Linked DNA regions of Homo sapiens: regions 1, 2, 3, 5 and 6 are each linked to region 4. Evidence: promoter capture Hi-C in human tissues and cell types (Jung and others, 2019). All regions are on one chromosome and are shown on one strand. The core of a region is centred on a gene start or on the middle of the fragment in contact, and the rest is flanking DNA. Distances in the headings are between cores, read along the strand shown. Region 1 has its middle 150 kb from the start of SPOPL-DT. Region 2 has its middle 170 kb from the start of LINC01832. Region 3 has its middle 130 kb from the start of SPOPL-DT. Region 4 holds the start of HNMT (histamine N-methyltransferase). Region 5 has its middle 170 kb from the start of SPOPL-DT. Region 6 has its middle 140 kb from the start of LINC01832.

Region 1 (3,056 bases), core at 510-3,009, 390 kb after region 4:
TGTCACCTGAAATTTGTAAATGTGGCTTTATTTGGAAATAAGGTCTTTGCAGATGTAATTAAATTAAGATGAAGTCAACATGGATTAGGGTGAGTCCTAAATCTAATATGATTAGAGAGAAAATTTAGACACAGAGACAGACACACAGGGAAAAGGCCATGTGAAGACAGGGTAGAGATTGGAATAATGCATCTGCAAGCCAAGGAACACCGAAAATAGCTAACAACCACCAAAGCCTAGAAGAGGCAAGAAAGAATTCTTTCCTAGAGCCTGTGAAGGGAACATGGCTCTGCTGACACTTTAATTTCAGATGTGATGTCTAACCTCCAAAACTGTGAAACAATGAATTTCTATTGTTCTAAGACACCAATTTTTTTCTGTTTTATTATGGTAGCCCTGGGAAGCTAACATACATACTCTTTAACCACTAGATGTGAATCCCCAGTGAGAGAAGGAAGAGAGTGGTCTGGATCTGTGAAGTGTAGGACAGAAACAATCATGACTTAGTGTTGTGGGGCCTCCTATTTCCCTGGGAGGAAGCTATACATGCAAATGGAAAGACTGAGCACTAGGATCTGAACCCCTGGGAGCCAAGAGTGAGAGAGCTGTGACTGAACTTAGCACTGATCTGGCTAAGTTCAGTCCAAAGATGCATGAAGTCCTTGGTGGAATCTTGTCATCAACATCAAGAGCGTGGAAGAGCATCTTCTGATAGCTCTACAGGGCCTGTTGCTCATCAGAAACAAGTGCCAGCAAGGACCTGTGGGAACGGCAGGTGTCTCCCTACATGAGTATGAAGCTTGACTAACCACTCTCCCTTCCTTGGGCTAACTATACTCTTGGAGGTTCTGGGCAGTTTGAAGATGGTTTCTAATTGTACTTTAGTTCTAGTCTCCAAGACAGTCTTGAAGTATGAAAAGGAGGAACCACAGAAGGTTTTACAGAGAGATGACACCCACACTGAAGAACAAATAGGAGTTAGCCAAGAGATGAATAGCTGGAGAAGCATTTCAGGTGGAGGAGCTGATAAAAGTGAGGGCCTAAACTTGGAAGAAAGATGGCACATTGGACTTCTGAAAAGAATTGAGAAAAACCAGAGCACAGACCAAAGTGTAGGAGTTTCAAACTATGTGATGAAGAAGTAAATGGTCTATGTGGCCAGCTGGGGAAGTGGTGGAGTTGGTAGAGACGAAGAAAAAAAAAATACTGAATCCTAAAACCAGGGCCACAATGGAGGTAACTGAAATTCCAAACACATTTCCAAATCTAAATGGTTATTGTTTTATTAGTACTATTGTACCACCCTCCAGTTGCATTGTGAGTTAAATGGGTGTTTTTGGGCTAGCCTAGGAATTATAATACACATACCATATATTTTTAATGTTTCTATAGATTATTATCCTCCTGCAATCCAAACAACCAACTTACAAAGAAGCCCAATCTATTTCTAAAAGGCGAGCTAGCTATACTAACTACCTGCCACATCCTGAAATGGCCTTGAACCTAGAGAGGGGTTGCAATTCAGTATAAATTATCCTCTGCTACCTTTGCATTCTGAATTGCTGATGAGCAAATTCATCACTTTTCTTTAATTTTCACATGCTCTTTTTCATTGAGATAGCCAGAAATGCCACAATCAATCTTGATAAAACTGATCTGGAGACAAGAACCAAAATACAATTAGAAACACTCCCTTACTCTCACCCCTATCACAAAGCTGTAATAGTGCTGGGCAGGAACTAGACAGACAACCCCTTGCAACCCCCTGACCATGAATTAGTGATCCTTGGTCCAGTGTCCAGAGACAACTGTATTTTCATAGGAAAACCTACGCTTTCAGTTTCAGCATAAGGAAACTACAAGCCTGTGCTGCTAGACTCACCAGTAAAAAGCAATAGAGATTGAATAAGGATGATAGCGGCCTTCCTTGAATTCTCTCCCTGTCCATGAATTAAATCCTCATAGAGGTGAGACTCTCATCACCACACAGCCCCAGGAAAGGACATGATTGATTGAGTTCATATTATAATACCTGGTACTTCTCCTGCCTCTGGGAAAGAAACATAAAATAAAGATGCCTGTACCATGAAATACTCAAATATGTTCTTCAGAATTCAAGGACTTAAATTATTCATTGACTGGGGCATTTTTTTTTGAAGGAGAATAAAAGGGAAAAAAAATACCTACCCTAGTCTTTCTGTCACAAAATAAAATATCAGCCCTAATGTTCAAATTCACCCGCAGAACACAGTATAATCCCATGTTATAAACAATTTTGTAAAAATTGAAAGTATATGCAAAATAAGATAAACAAAAGGAAAGGAAGGCAACTGAGTGCAAGAAAATAGCTCACAGCAAGTGACATTTAGAATGAAAGATAGAAAACCCACACTATTTTGTTCTATGCTTAAATAGACCAAGAGCAGAAATGTACCAGAGACATTTGATAATCAATATAACATTACCCCAAGGGCACCATATACAACTATAATTTTAAAAACAAAACTCAAGGAAATGGAACATTTAAATCAGAAGAACTTTTAACAACAAAATGACCAAAACAATGGTTTAATGTTCTTTTATATCAGGGAATTCTTAACTTAAGGATTATTTTTCACAGCCAGTTTTTGCCAAGCAATGAGAGAACAGAAAAAAAAATATCTTAGGTCTTTCCTGTCACTGTAGCTTTCATAATCACCACAATTCAACATGACACCATAACTTGTAAGAAATTCTCCCCGGCATCCATTTAAGTGAACACTAATTGGAAAGTTCAGTGAACAGAAAAAGGCTGTGAACAATATATATTTCAACATGCTGTGCCCGATCCTGACCTTAAATGACAAGGAGGAAAAAAATAGTCCAACACAGCCTCTGCATTCAGTCCTGTATTGTGAAATCATGATGTGGATTAGCTCCAGGAAAAATGTCAGGCTCGTGGTGAAACCTCAATAAAACCTGGAAACTCCATGTGAATCAATCTGCTCCACACACACGGTTTTATAAAAGAGCATCTGGATCCCCTGCACTGAAGTCAGGAACTCCACAGGTGAGAG
Region 2 (2,922 bases), core at 411-2,910, 300 kb after region 4:
TCATAGTCTGTTTCCTGCCTGCCCCATGATTTCATTATACATAAGTTTTATCACTGGGACCATTTCCAAAACATAAACCAAAGAGCTTTCATTATTAGTAGGACTGAGCATCATTTTGTGTTTTCTGGTCTTCTTTTTACTCATTGTAATTCTAAAGGCCATGTTAATCAATTTCTGAAACTCACTTAACCTGGTTCTAATTGATTAATGCATTTCCTCTCCATGTATTAGGCATTTTCTTTACTCTTGCTTTTCTTCTCAGAAAAATAAATGTGTATGTATGTGTGTGTGTCTATATACCTTGTAATCATTAATATGACTTGGAAAATGTTAAATTAACTAAAGTGAATGTGTAAAATAAGTTGGGTGAAAATATAACTTCATTGCAATATTGAGATTTTCTCTAGGGATGAGCAGGTCCCTCTGCTCAAGTCTCTAATTCCCCTTTTCACAGTTTAGTGATTCCATGCCTCTCCCACACATGGCTTAATTGGTGCAGTCTTTTGAACTTCTTGGAGTGATGTTATATTTAGTTGCCAATATTATTTCTGCTTTCTGTTCCCATGGTTTCTCAGTCAGGCAATCAGATCATCTGAAAATGCTACTTGGCCTTTGTTTCTGTATTTCCCAATTTTGTCTAAAGGTTTTGCTTATTTTTTCTGATCAGTCATAAATATTAGTGGGGACGGTGGCTTCTTTGTCTTTTTCCTAATGGCACTGAGACAGGAGTATGCCAGCACAGGCTGAGGTTCTTCTCTCTTTGAGATCTATCTGATAAATAATGTTACAGAATTATGCAAATGCTACCAGTTTTTGTGAGTCTTGAATCAACATAAAATACTGAATTTTAGAAAATACCTTTTTTTTGCATCTTTTCAGATGAGCATGTATTTTTCCTCCTCTGACATTGTAAATATTAAATCTTTATATTTTTTGAAAATACCACACTCTAGTCATGGCCAAGAAAACCAGCCCGGTTTTACGCTCCTTCTTTAGGAGACCTGATCAACAGAACCAAGTAGCATTTTAAGACCCACTTAGTTCCTAAATTAAAATTTGTAGAATTTAGAAATGATAGGTCCTACTTCCCAGGGGTATTTCTTCATTGAGTATAAGCTTTCAGTATGTAATGGATACGTTGTCTTAGTGCAAGAAAGTGTTTTTCTATTTGTATTTTGCTGGTTTATTTTTTAAATCATGATTAAATGTTGGATTATGTCAAATGCTTTTCTGTGTTTATCAAGATGAGCATTATTTTTGTCTTTTTCTATTAATATGATATTTTACAATGATTTATTCTTAGATGTTAAACCATCACTGCATTTGCAAAATAATTTCACAAGGTTGAGGTATGTGATTCATTTTATATATTACTTTATTCAGTTTTCTAGTGTTTTTAGAGAATGTCTGTGTCTGCACTCATCAGGAGATAACTGGTCTGTCGTCTTAATTTCTTAAGATACTTTTGTCTGGATTTTGTATCATGCTAATACTGGCCTCATGGAATAAACTGGGAAGTATTCTCTCTTGATAATGAAGGATTGAATTGTTAGTGAAGGACTGGTATTAATTCTTCATTAAATACTTAGTCAAATTCACAAGTTTTAAAAAATTAATTAGTACAAATTTTGGAGGACATGGCTGTAAATGTTTATGATAATTTATTTTCCTAATTTTATGCGCATCTAATTTTGTCACCTTTTAGCTGTTAAATGCCATCTGCTCTTTTTATATGATCATTGATTGTTATCTTTCTATAAATTACAAAATACTATTTGTTAAAAGATTAAAAGGCTGATAATAACACTATTCATGTATTATTGACTCTAAACTGATTTTTTTCTCTTTTCAGATTGAACTTTAAAGACCCTAAGAAGTCTTGATTAGATCGGATTTTAAGGTAAATGTTGCATACAACATCTCTTAATGGTCTTCTAAGAAGTCCCTATGGATTCTAGCAGGACTCCTATTTTGATATTCTGTTCTCTCCAAGGTAGTAGTAACATACAGATATGAACTCAAGGTGGGAAAAGAATGAGGTAAGTTAGTTTAGATAAGGTAAACGAGAGGAGACAAAAATTCAATGAGAGTTTTTGCAAGTTGAATTCTAAGTAAACTTTGTGAATCATTTGGATTGAAAATGTGGCCTTACTTCACTCTGTAGTTACCAGAATTAGCCCTAAAACAGCTCATTAGCACTACTTGACACTTTGTTAAATATTCCGTATAAATTCCTACTTTCATAGACAGGGTTTTCATTTTAATTAGTTTCCACTGGTGTAGCATTCTTTCCAGAAGGAATGTCATTGTGGTTTGGATTATGGATTGATTTATCAAGTAATGAAGGTTACTAACAAAAGACCATCCAGGCTTACATCATCTCTTTCCATACTTCTAATTCAGAACATCAAATAAGTTTAACTTTTCCATCTTATTTGCAATTATTTTCTTAAATTGTGTTTTGTCAAAAAGAAAAAAAAAAACTATGTTACTCATCCTTCTCTTACTTAACCTTGGATTACATTTCAAAATGATGATAATCAGCAAGCTGTAGAAAGTGGTATATTTATAGCAATATGGTAACCAACTTAATTAAGTAATATAAAAGATGTATTGAAATATCTGTGTTCTTTCTCTTGATTCAGATAATTTTCTTCATGATCTGAATTACAGATGGAATTACAGAAGGAATTACACGGCTTGATTACTTTTTAAAGTGATTATTGAGCTCTTCAGATATTTATTGGTTTCTCCGGATCAATTATCCACATTTATAAAGTGCTATATCTAATTGGCAATCTATTTCACTTACACTTTTTAAATTGCCCCATTGTTGGTCAAATCGTGTTTACCAGCACCAGACTCCATTATACAAAATAATTTTATTTCTAAGTAGTTTCCTTAAAGCTGTTTCTCTGATTA
Region 3 (2,846 bases), core at 240-2,739, 410 kb after region 4:
ACTTGGCAGCATTATTAAGGTAATTAATGCGCATTCATACTTTGAGTTTTATATCTTCATTTAAACTCCATCTCTTTTTAAAAATTTAATTATGAAAGGCCCACCATATGTTTAAAAGCCATTATGATTGTTTAGATAGGGAGAGACTGGTGCTCCCTCTGCTGGCTCTGAAGAGAAAAAAGATAACTGGAAAACCATTGCAGAATTAGACTGACATTCTGGCCAAGGCTTGCCACCCAAAGGATGATTTTAGAACTCTGAGATGCTTTACTGAATTGACTATATAACCTGAACTACACTAAAATACCACACTAACACCTATGCTTGTCAGACATGAAAGAAATTATAGAAAGTGGTATCTTAAATTCAAGGTTAGAAAAGCTTTTTATTGAAAATAAATCTATATTCTAAAAGCCCTGATTTGATTATTATACAATTTATGTATGTAACAAAATTGTACTTGTACCCTAAACATTTCAATAAATAAAAAATAAATAAACCAAGAAGAATAAAACAGTAAAAAGCATAAAATAAAACTTGACAGCTGGTATTAAAATAATAGGTGTATAAAATAACAATGATAATTTTTTCTAGGTGTGAGTAGTTGTTAACTTTGCAACTCCAACATATTATGTGTGTAGAGTATTTTACAGTTGTGACATAGATTAATGAGTATTATGCCAATTGATCCACAAAAATAAATGCTTACAGTTAATAGGCCAATAATATTTCACCGTTGTTCCCTCCATTTGAAAGAGAGGAATGTCACCAAGGATGTATAGCTCTTCTACAGGACCAGCAAAATAATCCCATGACCACTTCAGATATTAATGATAGCTAAACTCTAATGAATGCTTACTATGGCTAGACACTGTAACAAGGAGTTTATAAGCAATGCCTTCTTTAATTCTCGTAACAGCCCTATAAAGGAGGCATGATTATCATTCCCATTTTATAGATAAGGAAATTAAGCCACAGTCACTTTCCAGCCCAAAATTCAGGATGACACCCCAATATCCAAGGTAAATCATGTGAAAACTCACAGAAGCCAACTCAAACACAGGTGATAAGTTGCATGGAAATCGCACACAATGTGGAGTACCATGAAATATTGACATACCGAAGTCTATTTTATCGACTAGAAACAAAATTTTTAGTGGTGAATATTACAAAAAATATATATATATATATATATGAGTACCAACCAAGGTATATTTGTATTGCATATGTTTAAATATAAAAGTAATATATACATAGACTCTAGATTTGAAGGAGGATCTTAGGTCCCAGAATGTCTTCAGCTCTAATAAACATGGACACCTTATGCCTTGCAAAATTATTATTCACTTATTAAATTTAACAAAAGCTAAAAATTCTTCAGATTATGTTTCAACTCTTTTCAAATCAGTCCTGGAAGTCTCCCCATCTCCTTTTACACGATAAAAATTGGCATGAATTAAAATCTTTTGAACCCTCCCCTAACCATTGGGTACAAGCTTTGTATTTAGGCTCAACATGTTTTCTCTTTAGGTCTTCAAACAGACTTTGCTGAAATCTTGGCTTTTCAAATGACTTGAAATATCATGAGCCATGACAGTAAAAATTTACTTGGTAACAGAAACAACATGAGACTGAAATCAAAGACCTCTTACTGATCTTAATTTTGGGCCACATCATCCACTTTGCTTTGTAGGATTTATCCACAAACTCCTGAGTTTCTGTAGGAAATGCTAAATTTCTTTAACATCTCTAAAATGATACAGATCTCCACATTCTCAGAATACACAGAAATTTTCAGAAAAGGATATTTTACAAAGTTAAAACTATCTACAATGAACCCAATTACCTTATGAGGTGGTGAAAGGGCTTCATTAGCTGTCCAGATTGCCATTTTTGTGCTCACTGCTTATCTAGCTGCATACACCGAGTAAACAATCAGCAGCAGTTACCAAACTATTAAAATAATAGCAAATTATGAGGCAAAAACTTCACATTCAGAAAATTCCACTCATAAACTTAATATTTTCTGAGCTTTTGAGAAGATACCAACGTGGTTAAATTTTTTAGCAATACCCCAGTATTCTAGGGGAGGCTCATTTGAGAACCACGTCTTATGGGATTCAGTCTTTGATCCTCCACCATCATGTTTCCTTCCATTGTTTCCCCAAAATAGAATCCACAGGAATTGTCATCACAAAAAAAAAAAAATGCCATGTTGAATTGCTTTTAATTTTATTTTATATTTGAAGGAAATTGAATTAAATCAAGCACCAGTGGATTGGCTCAGAGAGGGCAAAGCATGGGAGAAAAAGGCACTGGTTGCCATACAGTTGGCTGAGAAGGAACCAGCTGAACCTTAAAGGATTGGTGGAGGTTGAGTGTGGCCTGCTGTGACAGTGTAGAATCCCTGGCAGCCCCAGACATGGGAGGAGCTGCTGCTTACCCCCAGGCTCATCTCCAGGCACCTCCATGAGGTACTCATAAAAAAGATGGGGGCACAGTGGGTAACTGGGGAGAGTCCCTCTTAGATGATACAGGCCAGGAGAAGGGGAAGAGCAGCCACTATGGGGAAAGCATGAACCCCAGCCACCCTGCCCAGATCATCCTCTCAGAAAGAACAAAAGCCTTGAGCCTCTGTAACAGAGGCAGAAAACCTTGTCACTCCCAGGCACAGGTTAAAAACCTATTGTTGATGACGGAATAAAAAAGAAAAATTATCTATCCCTGGAGGAGGGCCAGGAAACAGTCTTGGGCCCAGCCTCAGGATCTTATATTCATGCCATTAGAAGTGAGCTGTCACCACTGGGGAAGGCCAAGAAACTCTCTCCTATACCAGGACATCAGAG
Region 4 (3,019 bases), core at 174-2,673:
TGCCTGTCCAGATATTACACTTTCCCCCGGGGTAAAAGCACTGGCTCTAAGAATAGTGAGAACAAAACATACTTATAAAAGGGAGTTGGGGGCTGGGAATGGTGGCTCACGCCTGTAATCCCAGCACTTTGGGAGGCCGAGGCGGGTGGATCACTTGAGATCAGGAGTTCGAGATCAGCCTGGCCAACATGGTGAAACCCTGTCTCTACTAAAAGTACAAAAATTAGCCAGGCGTGGTGGCGGGTGCCTGTAATCCCAGTTATTCGGGAGGCTAAGACAGGAGAATCACTTGAGTCCAGGAAGCGGAGGTTGCAGTGAGTGGAGATCGCACCATTGCACTCCAGGCTGGGCGACAGAGCGATACTCTGTCTCAAAAAAAAAAAGAGAGTTGGGAAGTGTTTTGAATGCTTAGAGGGCAGCTTGGGAACTCAATTAGAAGAAGGGACGGTTTAAGCAGACATATTTCTAAGAGACTTATATGAGTTAACTCATTTGATCCTCAGCACTCCTCCATGAGTTGGATGCTATTATTAACAACCCAATATTAGATAAAGGATGACCTTCTTAAAGACCTCTTCCCAGGAAAAAGACTGTGTGTGGGTACTCTGAAGCTTTGGCTCTTCTGGTGGGGACACCACTGGGTTTCCAAAGGCTCATCCAGCCAAGCGAAGTATCTATGACCTCGTCGTGTTCAGCGCGCTTAGGGAAGGATTCTATGGACTGCACTTTTACCCTGGTGTCCTGCATTCTTGCTCCAAGACTTCTCTTACCACTCTCATTCCCCTAAATGCAGCTTCTGACACCTTCTAGCTACGAGTTCTTGGGCTCCTCCTTCGTGACTTCCTTTTAAGATAATTTCTGAGTTACAACAAATCAGCATTTGAAGAAATGCAGCAGATAAGTTGAAAATTCAAGTGCTGAGGAATGTAAAGGCCCAAAACAATCCCGTAGAAAGCACAGAGGCAGATGACAGTCTTCCGTTAAAGATTTCACTGCTGTAGATTTCTGAGAGTGCTGTGTAGCTGTCCTCTTTATCCTGGTGTTTGCCACTTCGAACAGTCACTTTCCCACTTGGAACTTACTTGTGGCTTTGCTGACAAAACAGGAAGTGATTTGAATACAGTTTGTTTTTATGACCTTTCAACCTCAGGAATTTGAAAAGTTTTAGCAGTGGATTTACAGCCTTGCTTAATACTTCTATTTCTTACAAAACAACCGTATAGGGGTTAAAGTATCAGTGCAAAGTCCCGTTCAAATATTGACTCAGTAATGAGCTCTACAAGCCAGCCTTTGTGGCATGTTAAATTCAAAACAAGCTTAGCATTTTTTTTTTTTTTTTTGGATAGAAACTGGTGGGGGTGGGGAAAGAAAGAGGGAACTGGGAAGAGAAGGAGGGGAACTTAAACCTTGCTTCCTGCTCTGTCTTTCTCAGAAAACCAAATATGGCATCTTCCATGAGGAGCTTGTTTTCTGACCACGGGAAATATGTTGAATCTTTCCGGAGGTTTCTCAACCATTCCACGGAACACCAGTGCATGCAGGAATTCATGGACAAGAAGCTGCCAGGCATAATAGGAAGGTAACAAAAGGGACGTTGTTGTCAAAGGGACAAGCCTCAGACTGGCTGTGCGTCAGTGATAGATGGGTCTCGCTCAGCCTCGCAGGCTGGGCACAGGGATAAGGGCGAATTACTGATAGCAGCTCCCCGTCGTCCCCTCCTCGCTGCCCTGCCCTGCCTTTCTCCTGCAGTGCTTTGGTTCCACGTTTGCTTTGAACACTCAAAGGCTCCCATTTGTGTTGTATTTCCAGCTGCATAGAGATAAGCGTTAACCATTTGAAGGCACAAATCCATGTTCATTTGGGAAAAGATAAGATGCTAATCTTCGAACTCAGATTTTTCAGCCCTCCTCCAAATTTTACATCCCAAAAAAGTCCCAAAGGGAGTCTGGTATGCTTTTCATTAGAATCAAATATAAATAATTGCCAAAGTACGATTTGCCCTGAGGATTGAGTGCCTCAGTTCTCATAATATCCATTTAAATTAATTTTCCTTATCCATTGTTATAGTTATCACTCTCTTCCTCAAAATTGTCTTTTTCTTTCAGCTTAATATTAGCAATGTGTTCCTTAAAAAAAGAACCATTTTCCCATTATCAGTGAAACTCACTGGTTCCTATCCTTCTTGCAGAGTTCTTTTTTTTGGGTGATTAATGTGTTCAATTTGTGCCAGAGCTGATAAGCATTATGAGAGTAACAGATTCCACATGCTAAAGATAATCAAATCACCTATCTGGGGGTGATTTGCTGTAACTCATTCTACTTCAGGAAATAATAATGGAAAACTGGGAAGAAATGACTATGGATCCAATTTGCAAACAGCAAAGGAAAGTGGTATTTTATCTTTTGCTGAATTTCTCTATTGCAGGCCTGAAATTCTTTCACCAGGGCAGTACCTATGTCTGACCAGAGCAGGCATTATTAGATGTACATAAAATTTTATTTCCTTTTCTATTTAACATGATTCAGATTTTAAATGTTAGCTTTCAAAAAATAGGATATTATATATTAAAAATTAATATGTAATAGGATAAGGATGCAAACATCAAAGCAAATAGCAAATATAGAGAACTTCTTACCTAGGAACTAATTATAGTTAACCTCTTTGGGTTTCTTTGCTCATTTCTAAAGTTAAAGGTAATGAGTTAATTTCTCAATTCTTTTTCAGTACTAAAAGTATTTGCTCATGTCTGTAGCTTACCAGATCCTTGGTTTTCTTCAGCCATACACAGTTTGGTTTGAAGAGGTACCGTGGATGGAGATAACATAATCGATGATGAATGACCCCTTCCTTATCTTCAAAGTTTAAATCTAACTGGAAATATTATAAAATCTGTGAAAGACTGAAGAATTTTTAAGGGCACACTGTTTGTCTTATAACAGTAGTATATAGTTAGGAATGATCAGATTCAGTGTCATTTATTTTTTTCCTGAAGGTAATGTTTGAAATAAGATTTAGCTG
Region 5 (3,222 bases), core at 687-3,186, 370 kb after region 4:
GAACCCAGGAGGCAGAGGTTGCAGTGAGCTGAGATCAAACCACTGCACTCCAGCCTGGGCAACAGAGAGAGACTCCGTCTCAAAAAATAATAATAATAAATAAATAAAAATAAAATAAAATAAAAATAGCCAAAATATCTGAATAGAATCCCCACCAAAAAAGAGGAAAAGATGTTCCACATCATACGTTATTAGGAAAATGCTAATCAAAATGACAATGGCTAAACTTCAAAACACACATGACACCAAATGTTAACCAGGAGCAACAGGAACTCTCATTGTTTGTTGGCGTGACTGCAAAACAGTACAGCCACTCTGAAAGACAGTTTGACAATTTCTTACAAAATTAAACATACTCTTACACAAAATCCAGCAATAGCATTCCTTAATATTTACCTAAATGAGTTGAAAACTTATATCCACATAAAAAGTTGCATGTGAATGATTATAGTAGATTTATTCATAATTGGCAAAACTTGGAAGAAACCAACATATCATTCAGTAGGTGAATGGATAAATGAATTATGGGTACAGTCACACAATAGAATATAATTCAGAACTAAAAAAAACAAAATGAGGTATCAAGCCTTTAAAAGTGTGGCAGAACCTTAAATTCATATTGCTGAGTGAAAGAAGCCAATCTCAAAAGGTACATACTGTATGATTCTAACTATATGACATTCTGGTATAGGCAAAACTATGGAGACAGCAAAAAGATCAATGTTTCCAGAGGTTGGGTAGGGGGAGACATGAATAGCTGTAGCACAGAGGGGTTTTAGAGCAGTGAAACTACTCTGTATGATACTATAATGACAGATTCATGTCATTGTATAGCTGTCAGACTGGTATAATGTACAACACCAAGAGTGAATCCTAATGTAAACTATGTACTCTGGTTGATAATGATGCGTCAATATTGGTTCATTGATTGTAACAAATGTACCGCTCTGGTGCCCCGAGTTGTTAGTGGGGAAGATTGGGGTGGGGGATGAAATGTAGAAACTCTCTACTTTCTCCTCAGTTTTTCTGTAAGCCTAAGAGTCATGTAAAAAAATAAAGACTATTCATTTTTAAATACATAAATAAAGCAAAGAGAAAAAAGAATGAGAGTAGACAGGAGATTTATGGTTCTGTCTGTAAAATCAAATGGAGGGTCAAAGAAGAAAAACTGGGAAGAAATCCAGCAGTCAGGAGCATGAGAAGCACAAAAGAGACTAAAGAGTCAGCGATTTCAAATAAGGTCAAGCAGTTAGCACAGGTCATTCTTGCAGAAACCTCTGTGGCATTGCTGCCCACTTCAAGAATGACAGAGAAGACCTCTGACCTCTGGGAAGAAAACCAGAGTGAGGAGCATTTAAGTAGCAATTGAAGACAAGCTTATATAAATAAGAAGGTATTTATCTAAGCCAATTTGTAGTATTCACTTAAAAATTCCTTTGTAATATGTAAATGTAGGTAATTAGTGGTTAACATGTATCTAGTTTTTTAATAGTTGTGATTAAGTGATTTTATTAAAGATACTATAATTTTCTTTCTCATAAGCATTGGATATCTTAACCCTCTGTTTATCTCTTGGACTTACGCTAACCTTACAAGGGCCATTTGGGAGAATGTTACCAAAATTGCAGGAAAGCATTTTGTTTGAGGTGCCCGAACTAGTTTCTTGCAACTAGCCCTAGCATATTTTAATTTAGATTTCTTTATTTTGTCTTTTATCCAACAGAGAAACATTGTGCATCCAGTTTTCTAAGCTCTGAGCTTCACCAGTTATTCCTCTGCCTGTTCTGCCTGTAGCTAAACCCTCCAGCTTGCCGTCTAATAGTAACTTCATTACATTTAAGAAAACCCTGAGATTGAAGATGGCTAGTTGCAAGAAGATTTATCTGTTTATCTGAATAGTAATAAGCAAATCTGACATTGAATCCATCTCCTGACTTGCTTAAAGAATAACATAATAGATTCTGATGCCGGCAGTATAAAGCTTTCAGTTAAACCTATTCACATTGTGTGTGTGAGCACACGTGTGTATGGTCGTGTGTGTATGTGCATGAGCTTTCATGTATATTCTACAATGGGCACACAAATAGATCAATCCCTACTGATCTTTATCACAGGCCTGGGAAGGTATGAGACCAGCCTCATTCTGATAGGGTAAGTTTGGGTGATGAAAGCTTCAGAGTGAATCAGGAACCTTGGTCCCAAAGGTCTGGCTAAGAGCTATAATGTGAATGGGAATGGCTAGCAAGAGAGGGAGGAAAGCAGGGAGTGTGAAAATTTAGTGCATATAGAAAAGAGAATTAGGGGACAATACAGTGTCCAGTTTCATCCAAAATCTCTGTGCGATCACAGAACTTGTAAAATCTCTCAGAGTCATCAGGAGGAAGTAACACAATATCAGGACAACACTGGCAGTAAGATGTTACATGCCGAGAGGAAGACCATGTAGGAATCCAAGCCGATTAGAAAGGAATACTGGCAGATGCCCCAAGTCAGGGTGGAGGGCTTGCAGGGAAGTATTTGTGGGACCATCCATAGGAGCATTAAGAGGGTGGTGCAGAGTCTTTAAGGAAACTGGAGGTCTTGGTCTGCTAGGTAACATTAAATATGACTTAGAAGAGGTGCCAGGGAAGCTTCTCTGAAAGCAAACCTTAGGACAGCCTTTTCAGGTCAAAGCTCATGTTTACACAAGGCAATAATGAATGCTCTTTTTTTTTTACATGTCTTTCTGTAGAAATATATTTTTATTTCTTTTGCATAAATAGCTAGGAGTGGAAATAATGGATTGCATTGTAAGTGCTTATTTAATTTTGCAACAATGCCAAGCCATCGGCTTCAGGAGCAGCATCACTTTTCACTATTATTAAAAGAGCACAAGGGTTCCAGTGGCTCCATTTCCTCACCAACACCTGCCATTGCCAGTCTTTCCAATTTTAGCCATTTTAGTGGTGTGAAGAGGCATCTCATCATGGTTTTAATTTGGATTTCTCTAATGACTAATGATGTTGAGCACCTTTCCATGTGCTTATTGGCCAGTTGCATTGGGATTCCTCTAATTATAGTAATATCCACCTGTAAGAGATAGAAACTCATGTAGGGGGTGGAAACCTGTTTCTTTTCTTTCTTTTTTAAAGCCTCTTAGAACTTGTTTTATTTTTTATTTTTCAATTAATTTTTTTTATTTTCATAGTTTATTGGGAAACAGGTGGTGTTTGGTTACATAAG
Region 6 (3,078 bases), core at 176-2,675, 280 kb after region 4:
ATTTATGTTACTGTATATTATATAGTATATTATTATATACTATATAATAGCATATACACTATAAAATTATCATTGTAATAACAGCTTGATCTTCATTCAAAAGTAAGACTTCACCATAAACCTGCCCAACCTCCTCATCTATGACTCTGTCAATGGGAAAAACTGTGTGGACGCTTCCTTCTTTCTCACTTATCTTATTCTTCAGCTGCTCTTGTGGAGCCTTCAGAGGTTGAAGCACCAAGAAGGAGAGAGGGAAGAAGAGAAAAAGAAACATACTTTCTTATTTGAGTAATATACTGTATCTTACCTTCACACTCTGAGCCAGGTGGATGCTTGAAAATGCTTCCTTGTTTTATGGGCATTCCCATTTCTTGGAGGGACCTGTGCTATCTCCTCTGACTGAGACTTTCAGGCACTGGGCAGTACATTCTCTCACCCTGGTTTTGCTCCTCTTTAGTGCAGATTTTCAGGTGATCTGCTCCCCTACGACTCACTAATTGGAGTCCCATTGGCCCCCCATGTGACCCTCTTGGATAAAAATCAAAATGGCTCTCGTCTTGTTTGTTTCTCCTGTTTGCCCCCAGTCAGGTTTATAGATTGACGCATCCTCTACCTTGGTAAGTCCTGAGAGTGGAGACAGATTTTAAAACGATAACATCTTTGCTTCCAAAGCAGCTTGCTAGCCTTCCTTGCCCTCTAGATTTCATGAGCAGATATCAGAACAGTCCATTGTGTCTGCCATTCACCTAACAAGTTCTCCATTAGCCTATGGAAGCACCTCTTTTAAATTTGAAATCAAGTAGGCAGCATCCCACTTCCTTGGGTGGGTAGGTGGAAGAACTTAAAGCACAGAGCATGCTCTAGCCCAAGGAAGATTTCCAAATTAACTGTAGGATATCCAGTTACATTTGAATTTCAGGTAAACAACAAATGATTTTTCTTAAATATAAGTATGCCCCGTGCAGTATTTGGAACACAATTATACCAAAAAATTATTTATTGTTTATCTGTGGGGTATTTTATCTGACATCAACCAATTCTCCAGCCCTCCAGATACCAACAAAGTGTTGCACAAATTCTGACTCTAAAGTTAGTGCAGACCCCACAATGAGGCAGCATCATTGTCTAAGGTAGATACCTGGGGTTTGTCATCTCACACCAAGAAGATTAAGGACATAGACGCACACGAGGAGTGGGTTTAGGAGTGGAGGTTTAATAGGCAAAAAAAAAAAAAAAAAAGAGAGAGAGAAAGGAGAACAGCTCTCTCCCTTGCAAGACAGGGGCTTCCCAAAAGAAAATCCATCCAGCAGTGGACTGCACTAGATTTTATTGGCAGGCCTGAAGAGGTGGTGTCTGATTTACATAGGGCCCACAGATTGGTTGGATCAGGTGTGACATTTAAATAGCACTGGGAGAAGGGTGACCAACCCATCCTGATCTTATTATCCAAATGGGCTTTCCACTTGGCCGGTGCCATCTCGTCTGCGCCTTACTGTACACGTGGCTTGGCAAAGAGAAGGGAAGATGGAGCCACCATTTTGAACATGCCTACTCCCAGGTAGCCTTTTCCCATTGGCACAACGGCCGCATTCACCAGTGCAAGCTCCCAGCTTGCTTATCGGTCTGCAGCTCAATTTTACAGGCTGCCCTTTATTAGAAAAGGAAATAATTTGGGGGCTGCTTTTCATTAAAAGGAAAACCTTACCAAGGACTTTCCTTACCCTCACTAGCTGCCTAAATAATTTCTTTTTAACTCCTATAACGACAGCATAAGGTCTCAGGACCACAAGGCTGCCCCCACTTCAGAAACCAGCCGCAAGTCCCAGGTTTTCTGTACTTCTGACTGAATGACTATAAATTAGAGGTTCCTATTGCCACCTCCTCAGGTTCAATAATTTGCAAGAAAGAACTCAGGAAAACAGTTGACTTATGTTAAAAGAGAAACCTTAGACAAATTAAATTTCACAATGTTTAACTGAGAAAAGAAAAATCTGCAAATCAAGCAGCCTTTGACCAAGAATAGGTTCAGAGAGACTCTGCTGCTGTTGCATGATAGGAGAGGATTTATGGACAGAAAAAAGAAAGTGACATACAGAAAACAAAAGTGAGTTACAGAAACAGCTAGATTGGTTACAGCTTGGTATATGCTTTATTTGAGCCTAGTTTGAACAGTCACCCACTCTTGATTAGCTGAAGCTCAGTGATTGTCACAGGAGTAGGTTACAGAATGTTTACATATCAGTTAGGTTACAGTTCATGACATATGGAGAAACCTTTGGGCCAAACTTAAAATTTGCAAGGAGGCAGCTTTAGGCTAAGCTTAATTTAATACTTACTTTTACTAGCTTATTATAAAGGATACATCTCAGGAACAGCGAAATGAAAGAGAGGCATGGGGCAAGGTACTGGGCGAGCTGGGAGGTGCACAGAGCTTCCATACTTTCCGGGTTTGCAATCCTCAGAGCATCTGGATGTGTTCACCAACCCCAAAACTCAGCAACTCAAAAGTTTTTATAGCATTTAATCATCCTTCTCCCCCCAACTTCCAGGAGGTCCAGGGGTGGGATTCAAAGTTTCAGCCTTCTAATCACTTTATCTTCCTGGTGACCAGCCCCGTCTTGAGGCTAGAGACTCTACCTCCATTACATTTTTAGACAAACTAAAATGTGATCAAAAGAGACTTTTTTAGAATAACAAAAAACATTCCAATCACTCAAGAAAATCCAAGAATTTTAGGAACTCTGTGGTAGGAACCAGAGACAAACACTAAATATACTTCTTTCTGTACCATAATCTGAAATTCAATGTAACTGTGTAATCACCCAACAGGTTCTTCTTGCCTGATGCATGGATAAAATCAATATACTGAAACATGGCAGTATTGCAGTAGAGAAAGTGTTTAATTAACACAGGGTTAGGAAAGTGGATTTATTTATTACTCAAATTAGCCTCCCTTAGAACTCAGAGGCTAGGGTTTTTATGGATAATGTGGTAGGCAGGGGGCTGGGGAATGGGTGCTGCTGATCATTTGGGGATGAAATCATAGGAATGTGAAAAATAGTCCTCATGTCCCAAGTC

The links. Contacts are between HindIII fragments. The study calls those that stand out against the background at their distance.
Region 1: a fragment that was not itself captured here is called in contact with the fragment with the promoter of HNMT in region 4 in 1 of the 25 tissues and cell types used here (spleen).
Region 2: a contact is called between a fragment that was not itself captured here and the fragment with the promoter of HNMT in region 4, in 1 of the 25 tissues and cell types used here (mesendoderm cells).
Region 3: a fragment that was not itself captured here is called in contact with the fragment with the promoter of HNMT in region 4 in 2 of the 25 tissues and cell types used here (dorsolateral prefrontal cortex and hippocampus).
Region 5: a fragment that was not itself captured here is called in contact with the fragment with the promoter of HNMT in region 4 in 2 of the 25 tissues and cell types used here (dorsolateral prefrontal cortex and heart left ventricle).
Region 6: a contact is called between a fragment that was not itself captured here and the fragment with the promoter of HNMT in region 4, in 1 of the 25 tissues and cell types used here (thymus).

Annotation. Positions count from the first base shown.
Region 1 is chr2:138,353,487-138,356,542 of GRCh38, forward strand. No RefSeq gene overlaps it. Among named protein-coding and RNA genes, the nearest start is that of SPOPL-DT, 150 kb to the right of the region's middle. The HindIII fragment of the contact is 9,390 bases long and covers 1-3,056 here.
Region 2 is chr2:138,267,609-138,270,530 of GRCh38, forward strand. No RefSeq gene overlaps it. Among named protein-coding and RNA genes, the nearest start is that of LINC01832, 170 kb to the left of the region's middle. RefSeq lists an enhancer at 1-189. The HindIII fragment of the contact is 9,692 bases long and covers 1-2,922 here.
Region 3 is chr2:138,373,990-138,376,835 of GRCh38, forward strand. No RefSeq gene overlaps it. Among named protein-coding and RNA genes, the nearest start is that of SPOPL-DT, 130 kb to the right of the region's middle. The HindIII fragment of the contact is 7,053 bases long and covers 1-2,846 here.
Region 4 is chr2:137,963,050-137,966,068 of GRCh38, forward strand. HNMT (histamine N-methyltransferase) reads left to right here and starts at 1,424. Exons shown (of 6, transcript NM_006895.3): 1 at 1,424-1,579. The coding sequence starts at 1,443. The HindIII fragment of the contact is 6,466 bases long and covers 1-3,019 here.
Region 5 is chr2:138,328,526-138,331,747 of GRCh38, forward strand. No RefSeq gene overlaps it. Among named protein-coding and RNA genes, the nearest start is that of SPOPL-DT, 170 kb to the right of the region's middle. The HindIII fragment of the contact is 3,271 bases long and covers 302-3,222 here.
Region 6 is chr2:138,241,474-138,244,551 of GRCh38, forward strand. No RefSeq gene overlaps it. Among named protein-coding and RNA genes, the nearest start is that of LINC01832, 140 kb to the left of the region's middle. The HindIII fragment of the contact is 6,611 bases long and covers 1-3,078 here.